2 separate regions of the Homo sapiens genome follow, and region 2 is linked to region 1. Evidence: promoter capture Hi-C in 16 types of primary human blood cells and fetal thymus (Javierre and others, 2016). All regions are on one chromosome and are shown on one strand. Each heading gives the region's core, a stretch centred on a gene start or on the middle of the fragment in contact. The rest is flanking DNA. Distances are from core to core; before and after follow the strand shown.

The links. Contacts are between HindIII fragments. The CHiCAGO score rates a contact against its expected background, and 5 or more counts as called.
Region 2: a fragment that was not itself captured here is called in contact with the fragment with the promoter of KCNJ16 in region 1 in 1 of 17 cell types (M0 macrophages); the score reaches 5.4 in M0 macrophages.

Annotation. Positions count from the first base shown.
Region 1 is chr17:70,072,711-70,077,069 of GRCh38, reverse strand. KCNJ16 (potassium inwardly rectifying channel subfamily J member 16) reads right to left here and starts at 1,845. Exons shown (of 4, transcript NM_170741.4): 1 at 1,680-1,845. It overlaps LOC105371881 (a long non-coding RNA gene), which reads left to right and starts at 2,263. Exons shown (of 3, transcript XR_934952.3): 1 at 2,263-3,844. The HindIII fragment of the contact is 12,238 bases long and covers 1,474-4,359 here.
Region 2 is chr17:69,549,638-69,553,996 of GRCh38, reverse strand. It overlaps MAP2K6 (mitogen-activated protein kinase kinase 6), which reads right to left. Exons shown (of 12, transcript NM_002758.4): 12 at 132-4,359. Among named protein-coding and RNA genes, the nearest start is that of LINC01483, 42 kb to the left of the region's middle. The HindIII fragment of the contact is 3,058 bases long and covers 528-3,585 here.

The DNA.
Region 1 (4,359 bases), core at 596-3,095:
CTTCTCCAAGGATTCTACGTTGCTCACTTCCTTGCCACCTCCAGGTCTTTGGCTAAATATCACCCCCTTAGTGAAGACTTCTTTGACAGTTCCATTTATAAATGGAAAATGGTGGGAGGTAGCTTTGAAGATGGCTCCCAATGATCTTCTTATGCTGGAACTCAAGTTCTTGTATGAGGACAAGTGGTAGGTTTTACTAATTTAACAAAGAAAATACCTGTATTATTTCGGTGCCAAATATTTACTTTCAATGCCCTTTATATATTTTGCCTCAAACTATACTTTTTTTCCATTTCTAATTTTCAATTAATTTATATCCAGGTCTTAGCTTGTACTCACCACTAATCTATATAATAGAAGAAACATATATTTTTCAATATCCTTGAAGACTCTTGTTCTCTCTCATGCTGAAATTCTTGTTGAGAAAAATGCATTAAAATAGAATATTGAATTCCTCTCCCAAAGCAGTCTTTTCTTGCAGTTTCAAAGGTTGTCAGTCTTGTTGTATATGAGACTAATAATCTTAGATTTATCACAATTATCGTGTTCTAAAAATAAACAAGCAGGATTACATCTCTAAGTTACTCAGGCTCTCTTTCTCTTTCTCTCTCTTTTGATTTGAATTGAACTCTGGACCTTGTTCACTTTTAAATTCTTTTTGGCTGAATTTCAGGAATTCCTTAAATGTATTCTGCAAAACAGCTGTGGTTTGGGTACTTCATGTTCCTTTATTGGTTAAAATCTGACATAAAGAGTGGCTAGTCTACATTTCCCATACTAAAGTAACAAAGGTGCATTCATACATTTTTTTCTTCTTCAGGATCTGGCTCTTACTAGCCATAAGAGTAATATTTAGCAGAAATACTCCAATACTCTTTTTCTAAAGACCATTCAGTCCATGTAATACACATGATCAAAATTCATCTGGCTTATAGAAATGTTATTGTTTACTACCTAAATATACCAACAAGGAAAACTGTTCAATTATATATGTCAGAGAATTCGTGGCATCCAGAGAGCAAAGTTTTACAAGCTCACACTTTTCTGACTAAATACTCAAAACAAAATTTTAAGATTTTTAAATGATAAGAAAAAAAAAAAAGCTTTAGAGGGATTAAGGTGAAAACAAAAGGAGAAAATTCTTCACTTTCAATTTATGTTAAAATAAATCTAGAAAAAATAGATCTCTTATTTCCTTTCAATGATTATAGACAACTATAAAAAAAAGTTAACGTGTATTTTCTCTGAGCTTTTTAAGAGGGGGGTATAAAATACATATTTTTCAATATTTGCAATTATATGTTCATAAGTGCATACAGGATGCAAAAATCTGGTTTTGAAAGACATTGCAGAATACTCCATGTGGTATGAATATAATAAAGCCACTTTTAGACATTTACAAATATAATAGCAGGCAAGGGCTGTTTAACAGACTCTGTAAACACCAATGTGAGACTACTTTTAACCAAAGCTTCAAAATAACTTAAGGAATATGACACACTGTTTGATTCCTACTTAAAGCACTTGGATAAAAAATTAAATTATCTTAATTGCATTTAATTGATCATTAATATTTACGTTTGCTGGAAACAGAGTGTTGCTGCTCCCCAAACACAGATGCCAGCAAGAGCAAAACATAGGCTGAATGACATTGTATCCATAGCAATAATAGCACTTACCTTTATTCACTCTCCCCACAGAGAATCTATGAGCTAGGTGCTTTCAGCTGGGCAATGGTAGAGAATGCTCTTTAGTTAATAATAAAGGAAAGAAAAGCTCCAGACACCAAGAACCTGGGTTAACCATTGACACCGGTTTGTTCCTACAGTTCCTCCCTGGGAATCTACATAGGTAGCCCCTGGCGTCTTATCAAGCAAGCCATAGCCAGTCAGCTGTGGCAGTGATTACGTCACCACCTCTGTACCTCTGGAGGAGGTACAGTGTGAAGGTCACCCAAGTATATCCTGACTAAGTTTTTACTTGATCAGGGATACAAAGGAGGAAGATTTGCTGGGCCAGAACTATGCTCAACAATGCCTGTAAGTGACTCAAATATTTACAGACAGGATTGTTGAGAGACGACCTATGGAAATGCTCCTGCTAGTTTTCAGACTCTGTTGGAATAGTACAAATAAATCCCTTTCATCAGAACTCTTTGTCTACATCTTAACAGCTGAGGATTGGGATTGCATGCTGACGAAAAGCGAGACAGGATAATGACAGGTAGCTAAGCATCCATTCAGTCTTTTATTTACCAAACCTTTAATGATTATTTTTCCTGTGCTGCCTAGTTCCAAAGAACATGAGTTCACAGTTGATTAGCCCTCTGACTAATCAACATGGATGGCAGAAATTGGGGTTGGAAAGTCTTCCTTTCCTCAACCCCAGGAATCAGAGCTCGAGCCTGAGATGGTGAATACAATGCAGGCTGTGGTATAGGTTTTGCCTGGCATTGAGTCCTAATGGGTTAAATAAAATGGTGAGGTGATCCCGTGGTCAGTGCTCTCCAGGAGGTAGAAAAGTGAGTGATCAGGGAAGAGGTAGACTTATAATGCTAGAATCAAGAGAAAGATCCAGAAAATGTGAAAAGCAGCCATGGGGAACTAAACAAATAGCAACCCTAGGCTCTTCAGAACCTGGGGGAGTTGTGTCCAGGAATGCTCAATAGAAGTGTTATGCTAGCAAGGAATTAGTTTTTCCTTTGCTTCACAGAGCGGTGGCAGCCAGGGGATCTAGGGAACCACATCAGGCTTGGTTAACACTGCAAATTTAAGAGGCCTTTTCTAGGTTCTGACAATCGTTGCTGTTTGACGGTTGTTAGAGTTTTGTTTCCATTTTTAAAAGCATGAACACTTGAGGAAGTGGACTTCTATGTTGGCACCGCCACTTACTAGCTGTGTGACACTGAGAAACTGCTTAACCTTTCTGCAACTCCATTTTCTCAACTGTCAAATGGGGATGATAATAGCAACAACGACAACACCTACCACAGATAGATAATTCGTGTTCCAAACTCATAGCTGTCACTAAGGTATACATATTCTGATAGGAAGACCTATTTTGCAATCTGTTACACAATATCTGCAGAAGAGTTTGAACTCTCCAAGGGACCTATCTTTTCATTCATCCATAAATCTCAGGTAAGCAGTGAATGCAGAGGTTGCCTTTTCTGTTAAAAAAAAAAATTGAAGACTAAACAAATGCCTACATTTCCATAACAATTGCAGCAACTCTCATTGTGGTTTATCCATGATGTTGTTCAATATTATCACTTAATGCTGCTCAATTACTGCCTTGTTTGAAAGCAGAGCACACTTTGTTAGAGTTCTATCTCAAAAGACTTAAAAAAAACACACACGCAAAAATGGACAGGACTCCATCTGCTCTGCAAATACAATTTCAGGAAAGGTGATTTTATGTGGGTGAGCATTTAGATTGATCTGAGAAGACGAGGCATCTAAACACAGCGTAAAAACAGACCATGGAGAAGAGCAAGACGGGAGGCAAGATGGGGAAACTAGATGGATTCCCAACTCCAGCTGAGTCAGATCGCCATTGCGTGGCTTCATTCCTTTGTTTGAAGTAAATTCCCAGAATATCAGACACACCCATACTCACATGTAAGTAGAAAAACACTTTCTAAAGCCAAATAAATAAAAATGATATCTGGATTGGCTTTTCTGTTACATGTCTCTGCCTCCTCAGTCTACCTTAACTGATAATTAACTTCATTGAAGTTCAACTTTTGTGAACTTTAATCCTCCCCCAAACAGAAAGACAAACTGAGGCAAGTTGAGGAGGCATGTTCAAGATTTGTCAAATTACAAGAATTTGTTACTTGAATGTAAGTGATAAATAATTATCTCTTTCAAAAATCTGTAATGTATTGCTGTTCTGTGATTTTAGTATTGGCCTAAGAGGAAGTTACATTGTACAAAGGGGTTACTTGTTAGAGAGAACACTCTAGCTCCGTCACTGGAAGACTGTGGCTTGCTTCCAGTTTTTGTAAGGACTCCCAGCTAAGAATGGTTTTTACAATGATAAATAGCGGGGGAAAAGTAAAAGAAAACTAATATTTGTGACATGAAAATGATGTGAAATTCACATTTCTATGTCTGTAAATCATGTTTATTGGTAAATATGCCTATCCCTATTTTTTTACTTACTGTCAATGAAGGCATCATATTACACAACAGAATTCAGTGACCTTCAAGACCTCAACAGAGACTGTGGTCCTTAAAGCCTAAAATATTTTGTATCTGGCCCTTTACAGAAAAAAAAAACAAAAACAAAACTAGCTAAGCCGTAAAATTTACTCTTCTCCAAAAGTAATGTTCCTCTTTTCTGATTAATGATTTT
Region 2 (4,359 bases), core at 807-3,306, 520 kb after region 1:
TAGAAATAGGAAAAGCATAGAGAAAGAATAACAAGAATATATAGTCCAGGAAAGCTTTTACCGGGAGAGCCTTTTATACCATGTTCCTGGAATATAGGGTTTCCAACAACTCAATTAATGTACAGACTCACTACGCTTTTTAAAATGTCTTTTATTGGTTGTACATTTTCTTATGAGATCAACACACCATTTTCTTTCAAGAACACTTTGCTCCTGAATACTTAATGTTACTTGTCCCAGCTATGAAAGCCATAGCAAGCACTTTGACGGAAAAAGGTGGTTGGGTGTTTTTTTTGCCATTATCACTGTCTTCTCTATCGTTAAACTGTTGTTTGAGTCAGTTTGTAGATTGACACAACATTGAACACAACACACACGGTGTGAAGTTTTACACGCATATACACACATCTGGAGACCAGTTACAGTGTCTGCAGCTTGTTCCTTTCTCCTCAGCAGTATGAAACTGAAGAATATCCTGAGATAGGAAGTCAACGTGAAAGTTCCTCATTAAAAGAGGAGGTCAAGCTTGATTTAATCTCCCAATTTCATTTTCTTTTTGAGGTGGTCAGAGGGGACCCAGAACGGTAGCCAGATGAACCGTGGAACAACCACATGGTTTAATATCTCAGCTGTTTCCTTGGTCAAAAACACAGATTCACAGAAATATTTCATGGCACATCAGAAACCTACTTTTTAAAAATATGATCTTGGATTAGAAAGGAGGGAAATGAAAAGGTTGTTTTTTACTAGATGTGATGGGAAATCCCACCACAGAATGACCTACATACTTGTAAGGCAAAATTACCCTCACCTTTGGCAATTATTATACTTCCTTGTCTACTGACTGATAGAAGTCAATCATCCAGTCTTGTCCCCCATCAATGTTATTTGCATGAAAAGATGAATTTCTCAAGAATAGGGACCCAGGACAGGTGGCTTCTCCAAATGTTAAAAAGAAACATAATTTCTTTAAAGCTACATTATCCCTCAATTCAGTATATTTCTGGGAACACTAACAAAACTTAACCTATGTTAACACCAATGCTTATATCTACTGCAAGTCCTGCATACTGGCTATTTCCTTGGCTTTGGGATTTGGAGATAACATCATTAATAATGATAAACAATAGTTCAAATGAAAAAAAAAATGCACACAACCTGGGTGACAGGAAAGCTAGCCTAAAATGAAAATGTTTGGAGCCACCAAAGCCAACAGGCAAAGAAAACAAAGGCATGCTGTCCCACAAAACAGGTATTTTAAATACAATCCTGAGGCCTTATTGAAGTTATCACTTGATGCTCATATATTTCCATATAGAAAAACACAGTTAGATATACACCCCCAACTCCTTCTTTCCTTCTTCAGCTCACAAGCAAAGAGTTCCCAAAGGCCAGAATTTAAATTTAATATTCACCTCAAGAGCATGGAAACATTCCACCCACATGCTTTACAGGTCTTTACTTTATAAACTTCTAATGAGTTTCATGCTCTACAGTTCAGCCTGCCTCATTCACAAAGAGACAATGCGGCAATCCGTAAAGAAGAGATGATTCCAACCAGAAAAAGCTGCACCTGGCAGGAAAGATGGGAGCCTCAATGAGGGAATCCACTGAATAGCATTCATTCTTTTATTTTAAACTCTCCAGAGACACTACTTTGAAGTGCTGGAGGTGGGTTTTGAAAGACAGGGGTGCATAGGACCTCTCCGATATCCTTTCAGAATATTTCAGGTACCAAGAAGAGGTAGCAAGCTCCTAACTAGCTTATGGAACTACCTCATTCTAGCATCAGGGCATTTTCCACTTGCCCAAAGGCTCTCTTTGCAATAAACATGGTTTGAAAATAACTTTAGGGTGCAACAGGCAAACAATCAATCATATATACAAATAACATGTGTCTATCACAAAATTTACAGAAGGTAAGAAAACGTGTTGTTGTGTTTCCTTACAAAGTCCATATTAATAAACGGAAGCAGCATTTTCAGCTATGAAACTGAAGCACAAAGAAAGCTGAAGAAATCCACCTCTTTTATTAAAATTCTTGTAAAGTTCAATTCCATAAAGAAATTCTAGTGTCTCATCAAGATTTTCACAAAATATATAGAAAACTGTTCATGTATTTAAATAATGTGAAACTACATTCCTAACACCTCTTTCAGCTTTAAATGACTCAATTTGATGATTCAGTATCATAGGAAGTATGTCCTAGTTGTGTAAGCAAATTACACAAAAAAATACTTTTCCTCTAAAAATACCTATTATTCTATTAAAACATCATTTCAGTTCATATAGAAAATCAGTCCACTCAGAAAATAAATTTGAGACTAAAGAATAAATCAAACACAGAGGTAATACAGGAGATAAACACAATTTTCTTAATCAAACCTCCTCAAGTGGCTTTTATGCAGATTGGCCAAGAACACTATAAACTGCTGCCCAATGTAAATTTTTGGCACATATAGTTTTCTAAAACAGTTGCTGTGAAACCCCAGCTATTAAATTTGCTCTAGTGGCAAACAGAACACTGTCAGAATTCACCAGACTCTTTATGTGTGTGTACAAGGCACCTGATATGACTCAGCTGGTGTTTAAGCATTCCCTTGTGTGCAGTTCATGACAGATACACCACCATAGCTTCCAACTTCTAAAGGCTGTACCAGGTTTCCATTACCCTTCTCCACCTACAACACCTTTGCAAAAGGCAGCAAGGGGTAGCTCTGTTAGCTTGAGTCTCAGACCGTACCCCTGTCTGTGTCAACATTGTCCAAAGGATTTGCTTTTTTCTGATAGGTCAATGAACAAAAACGGTAACTCCTGCCTCTGCAAACCTAGAGATGCAAAAATTCCACTGCATATGAAGAGCCCAGTCACTCCACGCCTTGTCACTGAGACGGTGAACAAAGATCAGGTCATTCTCAACCACTTTAGGAAAATGTCGCATGTAAGGATCTATAATGCATGGCTGTCATACAACAATTCCTTGCATTTTTCTTTCAAAATGATTTATGCTCAATTAAAATTAAATGACCCTGTCTTCTGGCCACCTATCTCCCTATCTCTGTGAGCATACTCAGTACGGCAAAAGCCAGGGACTCACAGCCGTGGTTGGCTATAAAATTTCCCATATTTGAGACTGTTTAAAGTCCTAAAGTGGTCATTTAATCCAACGTTCCCAAGTTTTTAATGGCCACAGAGACTTCCAGTTAAAAGGAACAATACTAGAAGCCAGATATTCTGACTGGAGGTTGACAGAGGTTCAGATAGGCAGAGTTCACCTTCATCACACTCTTTTTCCCTTCTGTTCACAAGAGACCCTCAGGGGCACCACTGAATATGGTCTGAAAACCACAGCTGTACCTCGCTCTTATCTCCCCAAGTATTGAACATACAACAGGACAAACAACTTGAGATCAGAAAAATAAAATAAAATAAAAAACTACTCCTTCCCCATAATTCATGGCTTCTGAAACTTCAAACTAGCTTTCAGTATTATATTTTAAAATTATAAAATCTAGTTCATCTGGTGAAGACCTGTAGTGTATTTCTAAGTACATTCACAGTTCTCTGAATTATGGGAAAGAAGCTTGCTCATCAGGTAACCTTCTCTAACATTCACCTTTCTTAAAAATGTCTGCCCTCTGGAACAAAAGGTTAAGGAGCTCAGGCTTTGGTATTTGTGTTTCTTTACCCAGAGGTGGCTGATGGATGAGGGGTATATTCTCAAAATGCTTTAGGCATATCGTTCCTTTTTCTCAACCATCAAATTTCCCGTTAATCATTTACTTTTGTTCAGCCATCTGTCTGAAAAGGTAACTCTTTCAAATCAATAACACTAGGGATACAAAAGAAAATGTTCTGATGCCCAAATTAATGCCACTCTCTGAATCTTCTTATAGCTCAGTATTTTTAAGGAAAAATAACAATAAAGGTTTGGCTTTTTGATGGGTTTTCCCATAGGAAATCATCTCTATAATATAGCAACACTGCAAATAAATTAAAAGATATACTTGTCTGCCAGCTTTTTTTTTTAATCAGCTTGCTCCTTCAAGGGGTTCCTAATTTAGCACCAACCTTTGCATTTATCACTTCTTCCAGCCCCCAAACATGACTTCACATCACTGTTCAGCCTTATATTCCAAAGTCCAGCAACAATCCCCTAAGATAGTGGTTTGGCTTACTTTGTTGAAATATCTTGCAGACTCCAACACAAATATTGATAGTGACCAAATGATGCAAATTACCCATTTCTGACCACAATAGAATATTACTTAGTGAAATCAGATACCCAACCTTGCTGCTCATCTTTAAAGGAAGTTCTTATTATAAGGTCGCATGTTTGGAATGAGGGTTTTGCTTAAA